Linked DNA regions of Homo sapiens: regions 1, 2, 3 and 5 are each linked to region 4. Evidence: promoter capture Hi-C in 16 types of primary human blood cells and fetal thymus (Javierre and others, 2016). All regions are on one chromosome and are shown on one strand. The core of a region is centred on a gene start or on the middle of the fragment in contact, and the rest is flanking DNA. Distances in the headings are between cores, read along the strand shown.

The links. Contacts are between HindIII fragments. The CHiCAGO score rates a contact against its expected background, and 5 or more counts as called.
Region 1: a fragment that was not itself captured here is called in contact with the fragment with the promoter of SBF2 in region 4 in 2 of 17 cell types (M2 macrophages and total B cells); the score reaches 6.8 in M2 macrophages.
Region 2: a fragment that was not itself captured here is called in contact with the fragment with the promoter of SBF2 in region 4 in 1 of 17 cell types (activated CD4 T cells); the score reaches 5.6 in activated CD4 T cells.
Region 3: the fragment with the promoter of TMEM41B here is called in contact with the fragment with the promoter of SBF2 in region 4 in 4 of 17 cell types (activated CD4 T cells, neutrophils, non-activated CD4 T cells and 1 more); the score reaches 8.2 in activated CD4 T cells.
Region 5: a contact is called between a fragment that was not itself captured here and the fragment with the promoter of SBF2 in region 4, in 1 of 17 cell types (activated CD4 T cells). The highest score is 5.0, in activated CD4 T cells.

The regions. Positions count from the first base shown.
Region 1 is chr11:9,691,486-9,694,185 of GRCh38, forward strand. SWAP70 (switching B cell complex subunit SWAP70) reads left to right here. Exons shown (of 12, transcript NM_015055.4): 2 at 2,661-2,700. Among named protein-coding and RNA genes, the nearest start is that of SWAP70, 29 kb to the left of the region's middle. The HindIII fragment of the contact is 458 bases long and covers 1,026-1,483 here.
Region 2 is chr11:9,617,560-9,620,259 of GRCh38, forward strand. No RefSeq gene overlaps it. Among named protein-coding and RNA genes, the nearest start is that of SWAP70, 45 kb to the right of the region's middle. The HindIII fragment of the contact is 2,051 bases long and covers 248-2,298 here.
Region 3 is chr11:9,313,251-9,315,950 of GRCh38, forward strand. It overlaps TMEM41B (transmembrane protein 41B), which reads right to left and starts at 1,343. Exons shown (of 7, transcript NM_015012.4): 1 at 1,071-1,343. The coding sequence starts at 1,191. RefSeq lists enhancers at 534-1,051, 1,052-1,567 and a silencer at 1,333-1,682. The HindIII fragment of the contact is 4,694 bases long and covers 1-2,666 here.
Region 4 is chr11:10,292,886-10,295,585 of GRCh38, forward strand. SBF2 (SET binding factor 2) reads right to left here and starts at 1,334. Exons shown (of 40, transcript NM_030962.4): 1 at 1,130-1,334. The coding sequence starts at 1,184. RefSeq lists silencers at 732-871, 912-991, 1,022-1,301, 1,422-1,471. The HindIII fragment of the contact is 10,661 bases long and covers 1-2,700 here.
Region 5 is chr11:9,673,531-9,676,362 of GRCh38, forward strand. All of the region lies in intron 1 of SWAP70 (switching B cell complex subunit SWAP70), which reads left to right. Among named protein-coding and RNA genes, the nearest start is that of SWAP70, 11 kb to the left of the region's middle. RefSeq lists an enhancer at 2,276-2,810. The HindIII fragment of the contact is 4,593 bases long and covers 1-2,832 here.

The sequences.
Region 1 (2,700 bases), core at 5-2,504, 600 kb before region 4:
ATCCCTGTGTTTAACAAGAGTGCTGTTTAATTGTCGAAGGCTGAAATCTTGAGTTCAAATCTATATCTTCTGCAGTGGGATCACTTAATCAAACTAAGCATCTATATGTACAAAGAGCATTGTTGACTTTAGACAACTGAAGACATAATGTTTCTTATTACTGGAGAGTGCTGGACCAGAGATTACAAAACCCGAGTTCTAGTCTCAGTTCTTCTCAGTAACTTTAGTCAAGAAAAACAAATTTAATATCTGTGAGTCTGTAGTCACCATTTATAAGATGAGGATGACAATATGACATCCAAGGCCCCTGCCAGGGCTTTAGTTAGAGGATCTGTGAAACCCTAAGGTAGAGAACAGGGTGGGTATGGGAGAGATGGTGTTTTTTGTTTCCTGAAGGCTTTGGATTAATCAGCTACTTTTATCATGTTATTCCCCTATCTGGAAATTTTTGTATTTGCCTCTATTCCTATCCTAAAGCTATCCTTACCTATCCTGTAAGCCATAAGTTACATTTTACTTCCTCTGTGAAGTCACTGTAACACATACTATTTCTCCTTTTCTGAACTCATTTATTGCCCTTACAGCTCACTCATCCATTAGTCATGGTACATTGCTGTGGAATATGTCTTCCTTTTACACCTCATTTCTAGTCAGCAGGTTAATGTAGAAGAAAAAGTATAGGCTATGAAGATAAATAGATTGATCTATGTGATCTTAGGCTGGCCACTTAAAATATATATATATATATATATATTTAATTTTAAAAATATGTACTACATTTTTGAGTAGGTTAATTTTTTTTAAAAAAACTTAATACAAAGAAGAGCTACAGTGAAGTCTTTTTCTAACCTTGGTCTCATCAAACTTGTCTTCCTTTCACAGTTACTAGTTTCTTATATATCCCTCCAGAATTTCTTTTCTTCCTCCCTTTTCTTTTTTATACAAAAGATGGCATACATATTCTTAGGTACCTTGTTTTTTTCACTTAATTTATGTTGGAGATCTTTTCATATCCGTACATAGCAAGCTTTCTCATGGTTTTTATGTTTTATGGATATACCTTAATTTAACCAGTAGTTGGGAATTGTTAACTTGGGTAAAGTTCCAAATGATTTTAAAATTTGAATGACATTTGAACCTGATCTGAGAAGTGTGCATTTCTTTAATACTTGTATTTCCATAGCATTTTACAGTTATTAAGCTCTTTATATTCTTGAAATTGATCTTTAGTATATAGGATTTACTAGGCTAATATAAATTAAATATCTTTTTAAAATTTTGCTGATTGTGGTGCAGGATTCTCCAATAAAAGCTCCACCGTACTCTTTTCATGTGCTTTACTGGCAAACACAGGGTTTGCTTGAGAAACACAGCCTGCTTTGTAGTCTTCATTACTGCATTTATAACCATTTGTGAATTTACTTCCTTAACTTACTTCCTTAAAACCAGTAGAGCATGTAGAAAAGGATCTCCACATAAATGAAGCTTTGAGAAACAAAACAAATTTAGAAAGAAGATATGCAAATTATTTTATAGATTAAAAATGTTTAATCTTAAAAAAACTCCTAACTGAAATATGTGTATGCAGAAAAAGGGACTCGCTTAATGCAAATGAAAGTATTTATTGAGATGAATGTGGCTCCTTAAGGTTAAATGTTTAGGGCTGAGAAAAATAAGGAACGTTTTTACCTGGGGTTCAACTAGGAAGATTCTCTGTTGAAGAAAATACAGCCTTAGCTATGTAATTTGACCTGTTCAGAAAGCACAAATGAAATGGAAGGGATTTAAGTTCTATCTTGAAATTTTCATTTAATGTAAAACAAGATTAATACTAAGGTAGCCCACACTGCTCATTTAACTACTGTACCTGGACTTTGAAGTGTGAACTTAGGTTATTGCAAGACCAGTAGCCCTTTATATGTATTTATGCTATGGAATGCAGGTTTTCTGTAAAATATTTTTAACCATGTTGGCGACTCCTATTTTTGCTATTTAATTTTTTCCTGAATCTAATCCAGGCCCTTGATTTCTTTCTCTTTTTATATTTATATTCTTTTATACTCATGCTGAAATTTAGCCTAGTCATAGAATTTTAGAAATGTTTAGATACTTAGAGATTCCTAATTAATATTTGGTATATTAATTTGGCCCTTTCTATTGAATAAATGAGAAAACTAAAGCCTGGAGAGGTTGTGACTTGCCCAGGTCAGCCTCCTTGTCCAGAACCCCTGGCTGCAGCCTCCCAATAATACCAGGTTCTTTCTCTGAACAGCTCTAATTGGCTGACTCTGCTCTACTTGGTGAAAAGTTTAATTTTGAACACATTCTCTTAGACTTCCCCCCCCACCCCACTTTTCTTTCTGATGTGGACAAATTAGTAAAAGACCACAGGAGTATTATATTCACAGATCTTGCATGGAGCCTGGCTCATAGTAGGCATGTAATAGAGACTAGTTCTAAGTGAACCAAACCTGGGAAGGAATGAGAAAGAATAACAGGTTACAAGTAGGGGCTTGCAGCTGAGCAGTCCTCACCCTGTTTTTGCTAGTTTATTTTCCATCTTTCTCTACCCAGGAGAGGGAGCAGCATGTTGTACTCATGGTGAAGGTGTCATGTGCTGGTTAGTGGGAGTCTTTAAACGATTTTCTTTTCCCTTGCAGGTCCTTTCCCATAACCTGTGCACGGTGCTGAAGGTTCCTC
Region 2 (2,700 bases), core at 23-2,522, 680 kb before region 4:
GCCTCCCCAAGTGCTGGGATTACAGGTGTGAGCCACCATGCGTGGCCCTAATTTTTGTCTTTTTAGTAGACGGGGTTTCACCATGTTGGCCAGGTTGGTCTCGAACTCCTGACCGCTGGTGATCCACCCACCTCAGCCTCCTAAAGTGCTGGGATTACAGACGTGAGCCACAGCGCCCTGGGGACGGTTTTAATAGGATTTGTTGATGGTTTAGAAGTCAGAAAGGGAAGAGTCAAAGATGACATCAAGCTTTAGGAAGAATGGAACTGCTATTGTGTTTTCTGAGTTTTGTTGTTGTTTGTTCATTTGCTTGTGTTCTGTGTAGGGAGATGGGGAATTAGGAATTTAGTTTTGAACATATTAAATTTGAGATGCCTGTTAGAAAGCTAAGCGAATAAGTCAAGTAGGCAGTGAAATATAAGAACTTGAAGTTTACGGGAGAAGTCAGAGCTGATTTTGGAGACATGAGTGAGGATATATTTAAAGCATGAAATGGCATGAGATCCAGCCCAGACTTCTCTCCCAATCATTTATCCGGCTGTCTACTTGACATCACTACTTGGATGTCTAAAAGACAACTCAAGCTCAAAACATCCAAAACAACATCTGATCTTAACTCCCCTAAACAATTCCACCCGTAGCCTCGCCCATCTCAGTTAATGATGTCACCATTCTTTCATTGCTCAGACAAAATCCTGGAGTGACTTTACTTTTTCTCTTATCTCCCACATTTAATTGGTTAGGAGGTTCTCTTGGCTCTGCCTTGAAAATATATTCAGAATCCAAACGCTTCTTACCACCTTCATTGCTACCATCCAGATCAGAGCTGCCATTGGTTGTTTCTTGCCTGGCTTACTCCTAACAATTTCTCTGCTTCTGCAACTGGCCTTCCCCATCCCCGACCACTCTGTTCTCAACAGAGGGATTTTAAAAAAACCTGTCAGATCACGTCCCTCCTCTGCTCAAAACCCTCCAAACAGCTTGCCGTTTCAGAGTAAAAGACAAAGTCCTGGCTGGGCACAGTGGCTCATGCCTGTAATCCCAGCACTTTGGGAGGCCAAGTGGGTGGATCATGAGGTCAGGAGATCGAGAACATCCTGGCCAACATGGTGAAACTCTGTCTCTACTAAAATACAAAAAATTAGCCAGGTGTGGTGGTGCGCACCTGTAGTCCCAGCTACTTGGGAGGCTGAGGCAGGGGAATTGCTTGAACCTGGGAGGTGGAGGTTGCAGTGAGCCGAGATTGCACCACTGCACTCCAGCCTGGTGAAAGAGTGAGACTCTGTCTCAAAAAAAAAAAAAAAAAAAAAAAAGACAAAGATCTTATAATGGCCTTCCCAATCTGACCCAGAGCCTCTACCTATGACCCTACATCCTACTGTTCTCTCCATCACTCAATTGGCCCCAGCAACATAGCTTTCCTTGTTGTTCCTCAACCATGCCAGACACACTCCTGCCTCTTTCCTCTGCTTACAATGCTCTTCTCTCCGCTAGCCCCTTGTCTCATTCATTACCTTCCTAAGATTTTGCTGAGACTTCTTCTGGACTGGGTGAAGGGCACAGGCAAAAAATTGCAAGGGCCTGGACCAAGGCAGGGAATGAAAGCATATTTTAAAACACACTGCAGTGACAGTCTTAAAAAACAGGAAGTTAGAGAAACCATGTAGTCATTTGTTCATTCATTCATTCAGTTAATCATTCATCAAATGCCTTCTCTGCACTTTCAGCATGGAAGACACTGGGAATATCAGTACTATGTCCAGACAGACCTTTAACTCAAAAGATGAAGCACCCAGCCAGGTGCAGTGGCTCACACCTGTAATCTCAGCACTTTGGGAGGCTGACACAGGTGGATCACCTGAGGTTAGGAGTTTGAGACCAGCCTGGCCAACATGATGAAACCCCATATCTACTAAAATACAAAAATTAGCCAGGCATGGTGGCGTGCAACTGTAATCCCAGCTACTCAGAAGGCTGAGGCAGAAGAATTGCTTGAACTCAGGAGGTGGAGGCTGCAGTGAGCTGAGATCACGCTACTGCACTCCAGCCTGGGCGACAGAGCGAGACAAAAAAAAAAAAAAAAAGGCGAAGCACACAAGTGTTATAATCTTTGAGCAGGACATTTGTCTCACTCTCACGGAGCTACCAATATGTTGCAGGAGCAGCCAAATATCTCAAGGTGGGATGAATGAAGTGAACTGGCTGGTGCTCCTCCAGTAAATACTGTCCTTTTATTGCCCAGGGGCTCTGGACCTGCCTCGGGTCAAGAAGGGCACAAAAGCGGGATCAGAAGACCAAAGCTTTCCAAGCAGCTGTGTGGGGCAGCTGTGCAACTGAGACCATGCTCAACCTTCCCTTCCTCATCCCCTGTGAACTCTCTGAGGCCAGTCAATTCCTGGGGTGGGACATGCTGGTGGGTGGAAGGAATGTGGGGAAGAGCTACCAGTTACACCAAATAGAGATTCATCCAGGTTAACCAGCAGGTTTTTCAAACATGCAAGTCCCTGAAAGGACTGAAATATATGGGTACCAGAGTTAGTAGAGCCCCAGAAGGGGAATCTGCCTGCAGGGTCTATGCACAGAAGTTCTCTGGGCCCTGGGTCTCAGAGGCATCTGGAAACACAAAGAGTGGGGCAGTGTTATTCCTTACTACCCTCAGGGTGTGAGTGTACCTGCAGCTGAGCACATTGAGTTAGGCCT
Region 3 (2,700 bases), core at 93-2,592, 980 kb before region 4:
GCTGGAAAAATACCCAAAAACATAAGGCTGACAGAGCCAAATTAGACTGTTGGAGACATTTTAAATTATTTGAAAATACATTAACATTTTCTACTACATACTCTTAGAAGTTCTCCTAGCCATCACTGGTGGTGGAACACACCTATGTGAGCTACAGACAAACTTGTTAGGATCACTTTAAGTTTATGAGCTTTAAAATCATTTAAAGAACGATTCCAGGCCAACACGGAATCAAAGTATTTAGTTTCTACGTACAGTTTTTTCCTTAAAACAATATTTAAAGCCGTGAGATTCTGCAATTATAGAGGCAGTAGGAATAAAGAGAAAACAAAAACCAAAAATAAAGCCGTGAGAAATGTCAGGATGATGTAGTGGGGAAATAAACTTTAGAATGAGTGACCTTAGCTGTAACTAAGTAATTGCTAATATTTATTTAGCCCCCACTTCATATCCAAGCATTGCTCTAAATCTTTTACGTGAATTATTTCGTTTAACCCACGCACCACCTATTAAGTAGATATTATTATTATCCCCATTTCACAGTTCAGACACTGAGCTTTTTTTGAAAGTTACCAAGTCCAAGGTTCCAAGTAAACAGTAGGGCAGGGACTCAAGCCCAGGTGTACTGCCACCTGGAAGTATTAAGTCCTCGCTCCTAACTACTACTTCACTGATCTGGCTTTATGACTTTATAAGTCATATACCCACACTGGGCCTCAGTTTCTTCATCTGTAAAAACAACGCAGCGAATGCCACAGTACAGCTCCTTCCAGCTCTGCCTAGCGTCGTTATCATCAACCTTACAATCTACCTGAGCGTCAACAAGCCAGTGTCATCCCTTCTTTTAAATGAATTCTACTCAAACAGCATTTACAACGCACCTACTCGGCGTCCGGCCTTGTGCTGCGCGAGCGCCCAAGCCCAACTCCCCCACGGTCTCTGCTCCCGCCGCGGCGCCAGCAGGCCCCCCTCTTTCCCCGCGACTCTCCGAGAATAGCGGGGGTCCTTTTCCCCACCCGACACACAGAAGCCTCGGGCCACCCCCAGCTCTGCTCCCCGGGCCCACTCACCCTTCTGGTGGTCTCTGCTGCCAGGCGCCGCGAGACCCCGCGTCCCCGCTGCCCCGTCCCCCACGGGGGTCGTGTGGTGAGCGCCCAACTGCGATCGTTCGGCGACTCTGCCTTTCGCCATGGCTGCTGCAAGGTGAAGGGAGCGGTGCGGTGCCGCGCCCCCTAAACAACAAAACTCTGTTGCAGGCTCCTTACTACGCCGAAGCGCCACGGCTAGAGCCACTTCCGGCGCGACCTCCTCACCCGAGACGACCTCAGCCCAGCGAGTACTGCAACCTCCTGCAAACACCCGCAGCGCCCACCACAGGCTAAACCCCGCCCCGTGCCGCCCCCGAGCCTCGCGTGCTCGCGCCGGCCCAGTAACCGCGAGACAAGTCAGGGTCCTGGACCGCCCCCTTCAGTGCCCCGCCCCGGCCCGCCCGCGGGAAAGAGGTGGCCGCCGGGCGCTGGGGCGAGAGCATGCGCAGTCGCGGCACTCGAGTCACCCGGCTGCGACTCGCTGGCCCTGGCGTCTAAAGCGTAGCCTTAATTACCCGGAAGTGCGGTCCCAGGGACTTCAAACCTTTTGTCCAGGCCGCCGGAGGTGCCTGTGATTAGTCGGCATTTCGCGGCTGAGGCTGATTCAGCCCATTACATCAATTCCGCAGCTGCTGTCTTCAATTTGGAGGCGCCAGAGAGTGCTTGATCTAAAAGATGGTGGGAAATACAAAGGTTGAGCAAAACCTACCTGAATTTCAGGAAACTAAGGCTCAGAGAGGGCTACGTACAACCTGTGAAGATCACAGGATGGCAAAAATGGGCTTAGAATCCAGGTTGTCCTGTTCCCAAAGCTAACGGTTTTGCATTAGCTGCTGCCCCTTACTACTAAACCCAAGTCAGCTCTACATTTAGCTTATCCCTAAGCTAAGCGGAAACATGCCTTTTCCACAGGTAACTTTTTCTGCTTCTACCCCTCAGAGCACATTCAGCTTACTCACCGTGGTTACCTCTTGAAAGCAACTTAGAGGCCGGTCGCGGTGGCTCAAGCCTGTAATCCCAACACTTTGGGAGGCCAAGGCGGGCGGATCATTTGAGACCAGGAGTGTGAGGCCAGACTGGCCAAAATGGTGAGATGAGACCCCGTCTCTGCTAAAAATACAAAAATGAGCTGGACATGATGGCTTGTAATCCCAGCTACTCGAGAGTGTGAGTCAGGAGAATCGCTTGAACCCCGGAGGCTGAGGTTGCGGTGAGAAATTGCACCGCTGCACTCCAGCATAGACCACAAAGCAAGACTCCGTCCCAAAAAAAAAAAAAAAAAATCCTGATTGTTTCTATTCAGTAATTACATTTGTAGGAAATTATTCCATGAAAATAAACATAAATAATTCCTCTGTATTAGTATAACAGTGAAAAACTAAAAGCAATATAAAAATCCAACACTAAATAAAAATGGTTAAGTAAATTATGGGAAACCCATTCAATTGAACTGTTTTATGTACACATCCTTTGCCTACTTCTGGCTCCCATTTTATTTCCTTCATAGTCATTAAAAGCAATTAATTCTGTGAACTATTTGTTTACTTGTTTATTGTCTGCCTCCACCTTTAGAATATAAGCTTTAAGGCAGGGGCTTTGTCTTTTTGTTTTT
Region 4 (2,700 bases), core at 84-2,583:
GGTCATGACTGGTGAAAGAGAAAAGAACATGAAAGGTTCCCACTAAAGGAGAGGAAGTTCTTAGGAGAGGAATAATGAAAGAGAGAGTGGACCAAGAGTGGGTAGAACAATGGTATTCTGAGCTACCAATGGCTGTAACCATCAGGAAAACACAATCTCAGCATCTCTGAAAAATGAAGGGGCTGTAGAGCTGATATCTCAAATTCCTTGCAAATGTGGGACTAGAATTGCCCTAAAATAGAAGTGGTTTCCCAGCTCAATTTGTTATTACATTATGCTTAGCTACATAGTAATACAAGAGAATACAAATACAGAAATAAACGTGCATGAACCCTGAATTCTCTTAAGTTGTGGAAGTCCGTCAATTAAAGTGTAAAATACAATGCATTTGCCCAATTGTTCCTTACGACGAAAATTCTGTGACAAATAAAAAGAACAATGAAAACACATTAAAGTGAAACAAGATCACCTTCAGCGGTCAGCTGGCTGTCCTTAGTTAAAAGACAAGTCATGTCACTGTGAAGTGACCGTCACATTTGTCCTGAAAGAATAGGGAGCATTTCCTAGAAAGGGGTAAAAGTGCAAAGAATCCTGTCCCCTTCCCTGGTACCACGCGTTCCTTGGGGAGGTCACTAGGCCCCCAACAGCACAGGGGTGAGTTAGCACTGGACTCTCAGCACTTCCTTTCGGAGAGGACAACCCCCTGCGTCACTGGTTACTCACTCAGGATGCAGGGCAGAAGTTTATCCCCGAGGAACTTAGCACAGTTGGCTCCCGCCCTCCCAGCCTTGCGGTCCTGGGCCCAATCTCAGGGCTCTCTCTGCCCCGGGTACCCTGCAGCCTCCAGCGGGAGGGTCGCGAGACCCCAACTCGCCTCCGGCCCGCCCAGCGGGTGCGCCCAGGGGCTGGGCAGACGCGGCGTCTTCCCTCCCCCTACCGTCGTGCCGGCCCCCCCACGCCCACCGCCAGGCTCAGCCCAGCCGAGAAGGCCGGACGCCGACCGCCCGCTCCTCCGAGACTCGGCCTGGCCCTCCCCGACGCCCGTCCCCGACGCCCGGCCCCGCGGAGCCCACTGGACAGCGGCCGGGGGGCGGGGAGGCCCGGGGGCGGTGCCGCCCCACACCCTTACCTGGCTTCTCGTGGTCATAGCCTACCACGATGAAGTAGTCAGCCAGCCGGGCCATGGCCGCCGCCGCCGCGCTCGGGAAGCGGGTCCCCGTCGCCGCCCTCGCCGCCGCCGCCCACCCGGCCCGGGAGGGCTCAGCATTTTCCCTGCAGCGGCAGTAGCGGCAGCGGCAGCGCTTCAGCCATGTTTGACAACCGAGGCGCGCTCTGCGCTTGCGCGGCGCCTAGTGCCCGCTCCTCCCCCGCCCCCACCCGCGCTGGCTCGGCTGCCCCAAGCCCGGGCGGCGAGCCCACCTCCACCCTCCGCGGGCCTCGCGGACTGCTGCGCTGGGGGAGTGGGCGGTCGGGCGTGTTCCCGCCACGCGCCGCCACCGCGGCCCCTGGAGGTGGTTCACTTTGAGGCCTGGATGCTGCTTCACGGCCCCCTCTGCCTCCCTATTTTTCCTAAAGCAGGGGGTCCTTCCTTCCGCCTTCTCTATTCTGTTTGGATTTGGAAGAAGGGATGTGGAGAGTTGAGGGGTCACTTGGAAAGCTGGCTGCTTCCTCTGCTCCCCACCACCACCAAAGATGAAATTCTCCCGCCCTCGGTTGGAAGCAAGGAATTTGCATCGACAGGGCTTTTGCTGCACGTTTCCTGTTTATGTTGTGTAGATGGGAATTTTAGAAACATGCCACCGAGCAGACGGGGGAGGGAGAGGCTTTTACGCAATCCTCCAAGGAGCCTCGGGTTTCAATGCCGGGTGGGCCGGGGGCGGTCGGCCTGGGCTTCCCCCGGAGCGCCCGGGAGAGCCAGATTCCACCGAGGAACGCGGCATCCCCGGGATCCTCCCGAACTGGGCTGGCCTCTCCCTGGGGAGCCCCGCACGCCTCGGCTTGCTTCCCTCGCAGCGGTCCCAGGGCTCTCGCAGCCCGAGCAGGTGGACTTCCAACTTCCCTGCTCAAACATGCACAAAAATGAATAGATGGTCCCGTCCTTCCGTCTCGGGATTATCAAAGTCGCTTGCTTTTTTGTTGAACCTCCTATTGACCATTTCGAATTTGGCTGGTGTGACATTCAGGTGAACTCACTTTGTCATTTGTTAATATCTCACGAAGTTTTAGTAGAATTTGTACAAGTGGTAGACCAAAGTTTTGGAAATCTCCGTGGTTTAGAAGTTGTCTTTGTGGTTGCTTATCACTGCTCACTATTAATTGAGGGTTTGATCCTTCATATTTACACATAAGACAAGGCCTCTTAGCAAAGCGTCTAGTATATAGTAGGTGCCTACAAAATATTTTAAATGAGTAAATGTGCGATTTTCCCCAACGACCAGCAGGAAGCCGCAATGGCTCCAACTCTGAACTGAGAGAGTTGACATCTCAGCTCCTGAAGATTTACTCTGCTGTAATTTACTATTTCCCCTTTCTCTGCCACACTTGTTTCATCTACAAATTGGGAGGGTTGGGCTGCACTAGAACTGAAACTGAAGGAATACTTTAACTCCAGGACCTCTATGTCAGTTGCTAATGGTAAAACTGAATCAGCTGAATTTGCAAACGTGGAGGGAAGATAGTTTGATCCTGAAAATAATTAAA
Region 5 (2,832 bases), core at 303-2,802, 620 kb before region 4:
TACAGACAACCATGTAGAAATGTGATTAGACAAAAAAGGGTATGATCTAATATTAATAGACTGAGTGGGAAAATCCAGCAAGGATTGTCTGTTCAGATTCTTCTTGGTCTCTCTGTGTAGCTTTCCTTCCTCCAGGGTATGGGGGAGGACCCCTTCTGAAATGAAGGTCTTGTGGCCTTCAATTAGACAAGGAAGGTCAGAGAATTTCTTTATGGCCAGCTCCAAGATAGAAAGGTTGGGGGAGATGAGATTATATTTTTAGTTTCTACGGCCTGCCTTGGGGAGAAAAAGGAGCAGGCGAAAAAAGGGCAGAAGGTCAGAGAGAGAGAGAGAGATTTGTTTTCTTTTTTCATTGATTTATTTGTTTGTTTGTTTGTTTGTTTGTTTGAGATGGAATCCCGCTCTGTCGCCCAGGCTGGAGTGCAATGGCATGATCTTGGCTCACTGCAACCTCTGCCTCCTGGGTTCAAGCGATTCTCCTACCTCAGCCTCCCAAGTAGCTGGGGTTACAGGTGTATGCCACCATACCCGGCTAATTTTTGTATTTTTTAGTAGAGACCGAGTTTCGCCGTGTTGGCCAGGCTGGTCTCAAACTCCTGACCTCAAGTGATCTGCCCACCTCGGCCTCCCAAAGTGCTGGGATTACAGGTGTGAGCCACTGCACCTGGCTGAGATTCTGTTTTCTGAGACCTGCTTCTGAGGCCTAAAGCACCCCAACATTATAACAAGGGCTATGGCGTTATGAGCCAGGGACCATGGATGAAAACCTATATATATTTATCTATGTATATCTCTGTCTCATAATATCACATGTTGCAGACAGACTTTTGTCAAACTTATCAATAAAATCGAACTATAGAACACAGATTTAAAAAAAACCCTTGGGAAGCTGGGTGCAGTGGCTCATGACTATAATCCCAGAACTTTGGAAAGCTGAGGCAGGAGGATTGCTTGAAGCCAGGAGTTTGAAAACAGCCTGGAAAATATAGTGAGACTTTATCTCTACAAAAAATTTAAAAATTAGCTGGACATGGTGGTGGGCACCTGTGGTCCCAGCTACTCAGGAGGAGGAGGTTTCAGTGAGCTGAGATAGTGCCACTGTATTGCAGCCTGGGTGACAGAGCAAGACTTTGTCTCAAAAATAAATAAATAGGCTGGGTGCGGTGGCTCATGCCTGTAATCCCAGCACTTTGGGAGGCCGAGGTGGGCGGATCACGAGGTCAGGAGATGGAGACCATCCTGGCTAACACGGTGAAACCCCTTCTCTACCAAAAATACAAAAAAAGAAATTAGCTGGGCGTGGTGGCGGGCGGCTGTAGTCCCAGCTACTCGGGAGGCTGAGGCAGGAGAATGGTGTGAACCCGGGAGGCAGAGCTTGCAGTGAGCGGAGATTATGCCACTGCCCTCCAGCCTGGGCGACAGAGCGAGACTCCGTCTCAAAAAAAAAAAAAAAATTTTAAATTTAAAAAATAGAAGCCACTCCTAGGCCAGGTGCAGTGGCTCATGCCTGTAATACTAGCACTTTTGGAGATTGAGGCAAATGGATCACTTGAACCCAGGAGTTTGAGACCAGCCTTTGCAACATAGTAAGACAAGAAATTTAAAAAGTTAGAGAGGTATGGTGGCACACGCCTGTAGTCCAAGTTCCTTCTGTAGCTGAGACAGGAGATGGCCTGAACTCAGGAGATGGAGGCTGGAGTGAGCTATGATTGTGCCACTGCACTCCAGCCTGGGAAACAGAGTGAGACCCTGTATCCAAAGAAAAAGAAAGAAAGAAACAGAGAGGGAGCGAGAGAGAGAGAGAGAGAGAGGGAGCGAGAGAGAGAGAGAGAGAGAGAGAGAGAGAGAGAGAGAGAGAGAGAGAGAGAGAGAGAGAGAGAGAGAGAGAGAGGAGGGAGGAGGGAGGGACAGAGGGAGGGAAAGGGAGAAAGGGAGAAAGACCTCTTATGGCTTACATAAACTACAATAGAAACAGATGTTTGCTGGTTGTCTAGTCACAGTAATGTTTTCTTGTTAAAACAACTGTTTTATATTTTATATATATTATATATATTTATAGCCATAAATAAGGTCATTGCAGGTCAGTAGGTTTTCTCGAATCTTTAAGCCCTCCTCCGCACACCACCCCTCTCCCCAAAAAGGGAACCACTTCTGTCTGCTTCCCTTTCCTTACCTTGATTTTTTTTCTCCTTCCTTCTCCTGCATTCCCTGTAATCTCACTGGGCATCTTCCTGGCAATCTGTGCACCTTCTACCGGGGAGCTCTGTCTCTCTGGCTCCAGTTGTAACTTGACTGGCTCCCCACCTGAGTTGAGAGTACGTAGGCCTTTATCTCTGCACCCATCCTGTGCACGTTCATAGAAGTCATCAGCTCTGTTAACTTGATTTGCAATTGGATTGTTAAATACAACTGATTGTCATGTTGATTTGGTGTTACTTGGTTTTTCAGGCTGAACTAACCAGGAACACTAAGTGATTGTTTTGAGCTTTTTCTTAAGCAAAGATTTACTTGCTTTTCAGCAGCTGAAGTAGATAGCAATAGGCTAATAGTGGGGAAACAGACTTCCAGAAACACATTTTCTACTTGCTTTTAAACTTGTATTCATGAATAGTCCTTTCTTAGAACAAACCGTATAGTTTAAGACTGTATTATCTGTTTTGATTGCAATTTTAGTATATTCTGTGTTAACTGATGGTAGACTGAAAACTGTATTGAGAGAGATGGAAAGGGGTTTTCTTTATAGGAAGGTGCTAGGTGCACATAGGTAGCTGAGTAAATGTAGTTGAATTCAACGTTAGACATTTTTTCCACCATTTTTCCCCCTTGGTTTGG